2 separate regions of the Homo sapiens genome follow, and region 1 is linked to region 2. The links are contacts of gene promoters, found by promoter capture Hi-C in blood cells and fetal thymus (Javierre and others, 2016). All regions are on one chromosome and are shown on one strand. The core of a region is centred on a gene start or on the middle of the fragment in contact, and the rest is flanking DNA. Distances in the headings are between cores, read along the strand shown. Region 1 overlaps LOC101928135 (a long non-coding RNA gene). Region 2 holds the start of ARPP21 (cAMP regulated phosphoprotein 21).

What was found. Contacts are between HindIII fragments. The CHiCAGO score rates a contact against its expected background, and 5 or more counts as called.
Region 1: a fragment that was not itself captured here is called in contact with the fragment with the promoter of ARPP21 in region 2 in 1 of 17 cell types (fetal thymus); the score reaches 9.6 in fetal thymus.

The regions. Positions count from the first base shown.
Region 1 is chr3:35,307,412-35,311,744 of GRCh38, forward strand. The region is part of intron 1 of LOC101928135 (a long non-coding RNA gene); the gene reads right to left. Among named protein-coding and RNA genes, the nearest start is that of ARPP21, 330 kb to the right of the region's middle. The HindIII fragment of the contact is 1,332 bases long and covers 1,960-3,291 here.
Region 2 is chr3:35,638,128-35,642,525 of GRCh38, forward strand. ARPP21 (cAMP regulated phosphoprotein 21) reads left to right here and starts at 1,398. Exons shown (of 21, transcript NM_001385562.1): 1 at 1,398-2,271. The HindIII fragment of the contact is 6,229 bases long and covers 1-4,398 here.

The DNA of each region.
Region 1 (4,333 bases), core at 1,376-3,875, 330 kb before region 2:
CAACATCTTTTGGCTTCCAAGGTGCACTGGCATCTGTCAGCCTTCAAATATGAAAGGAAAAGACAAATGAGATAGACCACTACCTACTTACACCAACTTGTACTGAAAGGGACACACATGCCCCAGTTAGCTTACTTTTGGCCAGAACTGGCCATATGGATCTTAACTACATGAAACGGGTGCTGGGAAATTATGCTTTACTGTATTCCAATGGAAAATAAAATGGTTTTGTAACTATATGGGTTTTATCTGACATTTTCTAACTAGATCACTTGCAACAGAAATTTAGAGGTACGAAGGGAAATATCTAAGTAATCCATCATCCATCTAATGGAAATTCTAAATGGAGAGGAGCAAAAATAAATGAGGAGAAGAAATAATAAAAAAATAGAAAATAAGTGTTTGGAAATGAAGAAACAGTTATTTAATTGAGGTGGCATGTTGAATGGAAAGCAGGACTAATGAAGTATTATCCATATGTACACATATTGAATTTCCATTTCCTCAAAGATAAAAAGAAAATTCTAAAAGCTTTTAAATAAGAACAGAAAGTTATTTACACAGAAAACGTTATAGAAACAGCCATACACTGTCTTAACAACATTGAATACAGAAAATAATTTTAAAAGTCCTCAATTCTGAGGGGGAAAAAAAATCACCTTTAAACCTAGAGTTTCATCCCCAATCCAATATGAGGGCAAAATAAAGATGTTTTATTTATGAAAAAGGTTACAACATTCATTATTCTCTAAGTACATTTTTTTGTTTTGGTTTGTTTTGAGCAGGAGTCTCGCTCTGTTGCCCAGGCTGGAGTGCAGTGGTGTGATCTTGGCTCACTGCAACCTCCACTTCCCAGGTTCAAGCAATTCTCCTGCCTCAGCCTCTCAAGTAGCTGGAATTACAGGCCCATGCCACCACGCCTGGCTAATTTCTGTATTTTTAGTAGAGATGGGTTTTACCGTGTTAGCCAGGATGGTCTCGATCTCCTGACCTCATGATCTGCCCACATGGGCCTCCCAAAGTGTTAGGATTATAAGCTTGAGCCACCATGCCTGGCCAAGTACATTTTAAAAACATATTCATCAGGATGTAATTTCAATGAAATTAAAAGTAATTTAACTCAGGGGTAACATGAGCTAAAATAAACAATGACAATTGAGCATAATGCAGAATGGGAATGCTAGCAAAAAATAAAGTGTAATCTAACACACTGAAATACATATACAGTTCATACACTCTAACACACTGAAATACATATACAATTCATACACTCTAACACACTGAAATACATATACAATTCATACACTCTAACACGCTGAAATACATATACAATTCATACACTCTAACACGCTGAAATACATATACAATTCATACACTCTAACACGCTGAAATACATATACAATTCATACACTCTAACACGCTGAAATACATATACAATTCATACACTCTAACACACTGAAATACATATACAATTCGAAATTTTGTAAGATGTGAGGCTGCATTTTCTTTTACATGGTTTCAACTACACAATTTCATTATTGTATGAATGTGATGTACATGTACATAATCATAATATTATGAATACTATTATTGCTTTCTTTTTTGAAAATCAAAGTACCGACAAACCACAAATAATTCAATGCTATTTAATGAAATAGAATGTATATTCTATAAACCTTGTAAATGTAAAATACAATATTTATAGTAATAGGAAGGGGGAAGAGAGATGAAAGAAATAAAGTCCTTATTCCATTCTCTTTTATAGCACAAAATTAGTAGGTATTTTCAAAGCTTGATAAATCAAGAAATAAATATTAAATTTAGAATTTAATGCTAGAAGTGTCAATCTCTGAAAATAATAGTAATATATCCAACAATATTGGGATTAGAAGTTAGAAGGGAGAAAATGGGAAGGTGGGTAGTAACATATGAATGTTTTCTAAAGCAGGGAGATTGTAAAGCTTGTCTAGAAAACAATAATCAGGAATGAAGATATATATATACATCTTATATATATATATAATATAATCTTAAAATGTTAAACATTTCTTAATCTTAAATGTTAAACATAATCTTAAAATGTTAAACAAAGAAAAACTAAATACAGACATATTTTCGGTATTTTGTTATCTAATGAATGGGGTTAAAGGAAAGACTTTAGTAAAATTTTATTTCCCTTTCAATGGTTAGTATTTTTAATATGTGAAAACATTAATTGTATACCTGTTAAATAAAAATAAAATACCACATATATTATCCCAACATAAAGTAGTCCTCGGGAATTATATGCAATTTGCAGATTCTGTCAGGTTTCTCAGGAAGACGTGCTCAATTTGTAAATTTATGTGACCAGGGAATATTTATTAATAATGCCTATTTTTAACCATAAGACACTGTGTAACTATAAGTGCTATATGGTTAAATGGTACTTATGGAAATTGTCTATTATTCTAAACTATCCATTTTTTAAGTATGCAGTGAAGAGAAACTCTTAGCTTGGTGCTTTAAAAGGTGAAACAGAACTTGAAAAAAAGTGAGGCAAACCACTGTGACATTAAAGCAGAGTGTGAAAAACAGCAGAAAACTAGTGTCCAAAGGGGAGGAATTTGAAAATCAGTGAAACTTGGAGTTTTGAGAAGTGCGGAAAAGACTTAGTGAAGCCCTGGAAGGGATACTGGAAGTGCTTTGCCTAAATATCACTGGTTGCTATAAATCTCAGTCTCAGGAACCAAGATCAGCTTTCTTTTCTAGGCTAATATTAAAAACTTGTTTATAAAAAATACATACATACATATATGTCAAAAGATTGTAATATTCACATTTCTGACAATATACACAGCAAACATGTTATGATTATATCTTTCTGTGGTTTCTGTTTTTATCTTTGGCAAAAGATATACACTTCTGAAATTAAATATTTCAGATGTAAAGCTGTTGAAACTTTAAATTATTCGAAGCCTTGTGAGAAATGTGGCTATGTGGCCTGAGTCAGGTGGCATGCAGCTGCAACTTCTGCCTTTTGTTGCTGCAAATAATTAGGAAGACCAAATGGTACCAGAGATGATACCCCTTCTGATCACTACTGTCCTCACAGAGTAATACAGTTATCTTTCTTGGAATGTAGCAACGTGTAACCAATAGAATTCCTGTAACATGCACTGGTCTTGTGTGGGAAATGTTGTAATCCTGCTAAAATTTATCTGTCTCTGCCTATATAAGTGAAACCTTAACTTCTTTATTTTGGAACACTGACCCAATTTGAGGTTGGTGCTTCACAGGTGATCACCCTCAAGCTTTGCCCTTCAATAAACTCTAAACTTAATCATATTTTCTGAATCTTATTATTTAAGGTTAACATACTTATTTTTTGTTTTCATTTTTACCTTCACAGATATTTATGGTTTTATAGCTGGTCCTTTTTGGGTTGCCAATTTATTTTCTTACTGCATTTCATTAGGCTGGATTACTAAGGTTTGTTTTAAGGCTTTCTATAGGAATAAGTTTTTAAATTCCTTGTGAGTAGCTAAAAAGAAAGCTTTTATTAAAGTGTAACATTTTCAAATATATCCACGAATCAACCTTATTAGTCATTGTATTCAGACAATCTACTTCTTATTTTCATGATACATATAATATGCTATGAGTGGATGCTTCCATTGTATTTCCGTCAATTTATCCTTGCAATATCTGAGATATCTGAGTTATTTATTTAAATCAATACATACTGTGATGATGATAGATGGGTCCAAGTTGTATATATTACCTTTATCCTTTATCATTTTACATTATCTATTTTTATTTTGTTTCTTCTTTGGTGTGTTTGGTTTTTTTGTTTGTTTGTTTGTTTTTGAGACAGAGTTTCACTCTTGTTGCTCAGGCTGGAGTGCTGTGGTATAATCTCAGCTCACTGCAACCTCCAGCTCCCAGGTTCAAGTAATTCTCCTGTCTCCGCCTCCTGAGCAGCTGGGATTACAGGTGCAGGCCACCATGCCCAGCAAATTTTTGTATTTTTAGTAGAGAAGGGGGTTTCACCATGTTGACCAGGCTGGTCTCCAACTTCTGACCTCAGGTGATCCACCTGCCTTGGCCTCCCAAAGTGCTCGGAATTATAGGTATTAGCCACTGCACCTGGCCTCGATTTTTATTTTATTTGATATTTTATGCCCCAAACAAACTTAATTGACTGTTTATCATATACCAACTATCTTGTTTAATATGTCAAGCATTTTTTAAAATTAATTTTTAAAAATTAAAATTATTCTTTTAATCTTGAAATTTCTAAGATATATTTATTCAATATATGGGGTTAGTTTAAAATTTTCATCTATTAGAA
Region 2 (4,398 bases), core at 148-2,647:
GGTGTCAATAAGTGAAACTAAAAGGATGTGGAAAATTTCATAACATGTTTTATGCTAGTTATTTGTTTGTTGTCTATTCATGGGGTTACTAATTACAACTGGTAAAAGTTGATTTTCTCCTCTTCAGTTTATTGTGGGATGGGGCGTTCATTTCGCCAGATACACAGTTATTCAGTGTCTACATTTCAGAAGCTGAATTGCTGGATATAGTCAAAATGAGCTTTGGCAATTCCATGTGTGAGTGTACAACTATAATTTTGCTGCACATTAATAACAACCTTGCAAAGAAGCCCAGAATCAAATGCCTTGCTCTCAGCTGGGAGCAGAAAGCTAGAGTGGTATATCTTGGCTGGTGACCTATAATGTTGGAAAAGTAGGCTCTACATTCACTCAGAAGGAGTAGGTGGAATTCCGGAAATTTATTCACTCTCCTTCACTACGCCTTTTCCTTTTTTTTTTTTTTTCCTTCCTTGTAGTGTGTTAGTGAGTGCTCCGAGACAATGAAAAAAAACAATGAATTACAGACAATAAAAATAGTGCATCTCTAGAACAAGCGGTAAAATCAAGGCTTTTATTTCTTCAGGTGTCAACTCTGTTCCTTCCCCAGGTCCTACCCTGCCCAGGTTTCTGTGGCACCTCTGTGATTCCAAATCAGCGATCAGGTGGGCAGCGGTCTGGGCAGTCACCCACAGGGAGTACACTTGGTGCTGCACGTTCGGACTTTCAGTCTTGCTCAAAGCAAAGAATCTCCAAGAGCGCTGAGGCTACGGATTCATTCGGGTGGGGCGAGGTGTTATTATTGTGGGATTGTCTCTGCAGAGTTGGCCTGGAGAGTGAGCGGTGGAGGGAGTGGAACAAGGCTTCGTCAAGAGTCCCCAGGAGTCCAGGGGCGCCCCCGAGACGGGTACGCTGGAGGGCCTGGGCACGGGGGACAAGAGAGAATACATGCCTGCTCGCTGGGAGCAGGGAGGCGGTGTGGCGGGGCAGGGGGCAACGTGCCAGTTTTCTTTCTGATTAATGATGCTCACGCTGCTGCGCGTGGCTCATGCGCTTTGTCTCCAGCCTTAGGGCTGGCGGAGAACGGCCCAGGGAATGAGTGGTACCGCGGGCGCCCGGCGCACCCAGCAGGTGCCATCACTCTGGATGGGCCAGTTCTGGATGCTCCCAGTGGCGCAGAGGCGGCGACACTGGCAGGCGTCCGGCTGCCGCCACCTCCCGGGTGTGGCGGGTCTGGGGCCCGGGGTCTCCGGCCAGAGCAGCTGTGGAGCCACGTGCAACACGCGCGTTGCCCTCAGCCCGGGCGGGGACCGGACGCATCCGGAGCTGCGGGGAGGAGCCGGGCGCCGCCCCCGGCGGCAGTGCCAGCCGCGTGGGAGGGCACGGACCGGCGGAGGGGCAGACGACGGAGGCGGCCAAGCTGGAGGAACGGGACCGAGGGATCGACCGAGGCTGGCTGGCTAGGGGTGGGACTGGCAGAGCTACGGACAGGTGGGAGCAGTCAGACAGCCTGAGAGAGGGAGACCAGAACGCAAAGAGAGCGAGAGCATTAAGTAGGCAGGGAGAGGCACACAGAAAGATAGACAGCAACACTCGCGTGCTCCCTCCCTCCACACGCCCTCCTCTTACCGAGCGAAGCGGCCAGGGGCACAGAGTGGGAGAGGACTGTGGGCACAGAAGACCGGAAGAGGGACGCTGCATTGCTGGTGGGACGGAGGGATTCGGACGGACGGACAGACCAGCGCACAGACTGGCAGCCTGCGAGAGTGGCAGCTTTGAGAGCAGAGCGCAGCAAAGCGAGAATCCCGCGCCGAGCTGCTAGTCGGACCCACAGACGGTCGGACTGACAGACGTGCAGACGGACAGAAGAGCAGACAGGAGGCGGGGGCGCGTTCACTCCCGGCGGCCAGCCGGCCAGAGAAGGCGGCGGTGGCACCTTCTGAGCGCGTCCGGAGCAGAGACCAGCAGCAGCAGGGGCAGCGGGGACACAAGCCGCGACCGAGCCGCCGCCGCAGCCCTGGCTGCCACAGCTGTGTGGGATCCCAGCCGACACTGCAGAAAGCTCCTTTTACTAGCAGTTAAATAAATCGACCAAAAACAAAACAAACAAACAAACCCAACAACAACAACAACAACAAAAGCCAAGCCAAAAGCCAAAACAAACAAATCCAGCCAAATCAATCATTGAGAAACAATAATATTAATAAAATCCAAAACTAAATCAAACCAATCAAGGCACCAAGACGCAGGGGGGATATCCACAGTTCGATCAAGGTAATAATCAAGGTCTTCCGACGTGAACATTGCACGCCTTTTGTGGATTTTTAGAATTCCTTCTTTCTTTCTGCCATATATCTGTCTGTTTCTTTTGAATTTTTTCTTGTCTGTATTTCTTCTTCGTGTTTGTAGAAAGCTGATGTTGTTATACATGTATTGTGTTTTTTATGTTTCGTCAAGGAGGGATGGACGCTCCTTCCCCCAGAAAAGACAGAAATGGAAAGCTGGAAGTTGGCAATGATTTTCATCAGAGAAGTCTACAGTGATTTGTATAGGCTTTATGGTAGAAAGTTTGCAATGCTCTTTTTGAAAGAGACCTATTGAAGAGGTAGAAAGTTATACTCTGTTTGTTGTCCTGGAAGGATTGGGGTCCTAGGTCCCAAAGGGCTCAAGGGGAAGAATAGAAAAGATGTTCAGTTTTATTTTTACATGCATGAAATCTGTGCTTCATTGCAATCGCCAATTTACTCTTTTCTGTCTCAGGTTGTAGATATGGTGGTAGAATTGAGTTGAATTAGGCAGGTGTTTAGAAAGTTTCTTAGGAATAGGAATTAACTCATTCAATGTTTATGCATAGAAATATAGCTGAGGTGGATGTGGTTGCTGTCAGCTATTCAGGTTTGCTACCTGATCACCTCCTGAAGATGTAGGGTAAGGACAGAATCCAAGCCTAAAAGAAAAAACAAGGAGAGAATTGAAAGTTATAGGGGTGGGCAGTTATATTTCTTAAAAGGCTGGTAGAAATCATTTTCCTAAGAATGTGTTTAGAGTACAGATATTCATTTTAATCTTTGATTTCTTTAAGTTTTTTGATGTTTGATTTTCTACCAGTATGACACTCAGCCTCTCAAAACAAGAAGGACATTCCCCAAAGTTGAAATGAATCTGTATAAGATTTCATTCAAATGCAGAATAAATTCAAATGATTCCTAACCCCTCCTCATCTACTTTGGAGATAAAAACTGCTATGATTGTTTTAAGTAAACAGAGAAGTGGAGATGACAGGAAATCATTTTTCATTTGTTAAAAATCAGAAAACCTTTGACACACTTTTAGATAAATACACCTACTCCTTTGATCCTTTGTGTATGTATTACCACAGGGCTTAAATATCTTAAGATTTTAGTTAATGTCATTTTCATGAAAGACAGTCATTTGGAAGCCAAGAGCTCTATCTATGTTTTGTTCAAATAGCCGAGTAATCTACTATCTTGGCAGTAATTACTTCTGCTGCATTTCTAATGTGAATTGCATGTGAGAGCTTATGAATACACTCTTTTCAAGTGTATGTGGGTTTTCAAGGTATGTATTTGTGTTTGATCCTATATTTCCTTTGTTATAACATTCTGCTTTTCATCACTTTGACAGAATATTTGTAAATTTTCTGGAGAGTGAGTTTGGGTATATGCTTTGAGGAATATGCTTCCTCATTACAAAAGATATGGAAACATAATTGATTACTACACTTGCTTATCAATAGTATTTTGATTTTGTTTAAATGAAATGTTTAAGATACGTGGATTGCTATGCATTCATGTTTTAGATTTATCCTCTCCAGGCATGATTTATGCCATTCAATAATTAAAATAACTAAGTTACTTTAGAAAAAGTGCCTATTAAACAGAGTACTTTGTTTAGAGGACGTATATTTAAATAAACTTATACAGCTAAAGAAACTGACTTTCACTTCCTCAGTGACTTAATTTCACTACATGCTGATTTGTCCTTTGCAGTATTTAGCTCAGACCAAGACAGAATTGTATGTGCTATTAGATTTGCAAATTGCTGATCTCCCAGTGACTTTCCCTCTTAGATCCCAGTTGAGTATGGTTACCTTGAGAACTGTGGTATTAGCCATGTTAGAGCATGCTCCACTGGGGAGTTCTGTGCAGTCTATTTTTAATGCTATTTAATGAAGGAGCGAGCGCCTCACTCAGCAATAAAAGAAGCATGAGGGAAGACAGAGCAGTGCATGGTTATGGATACTGGACAAGGATATTTGGAAAGGTAAAGGCTGACCATTGGATATGGTAATTTTAATTAAGTCCTAATATATCATATGAATGGAAATATGGATTTTTGTTAGAGAATTATACATGAATAGTTCAATAGGTGTTTTCGTAA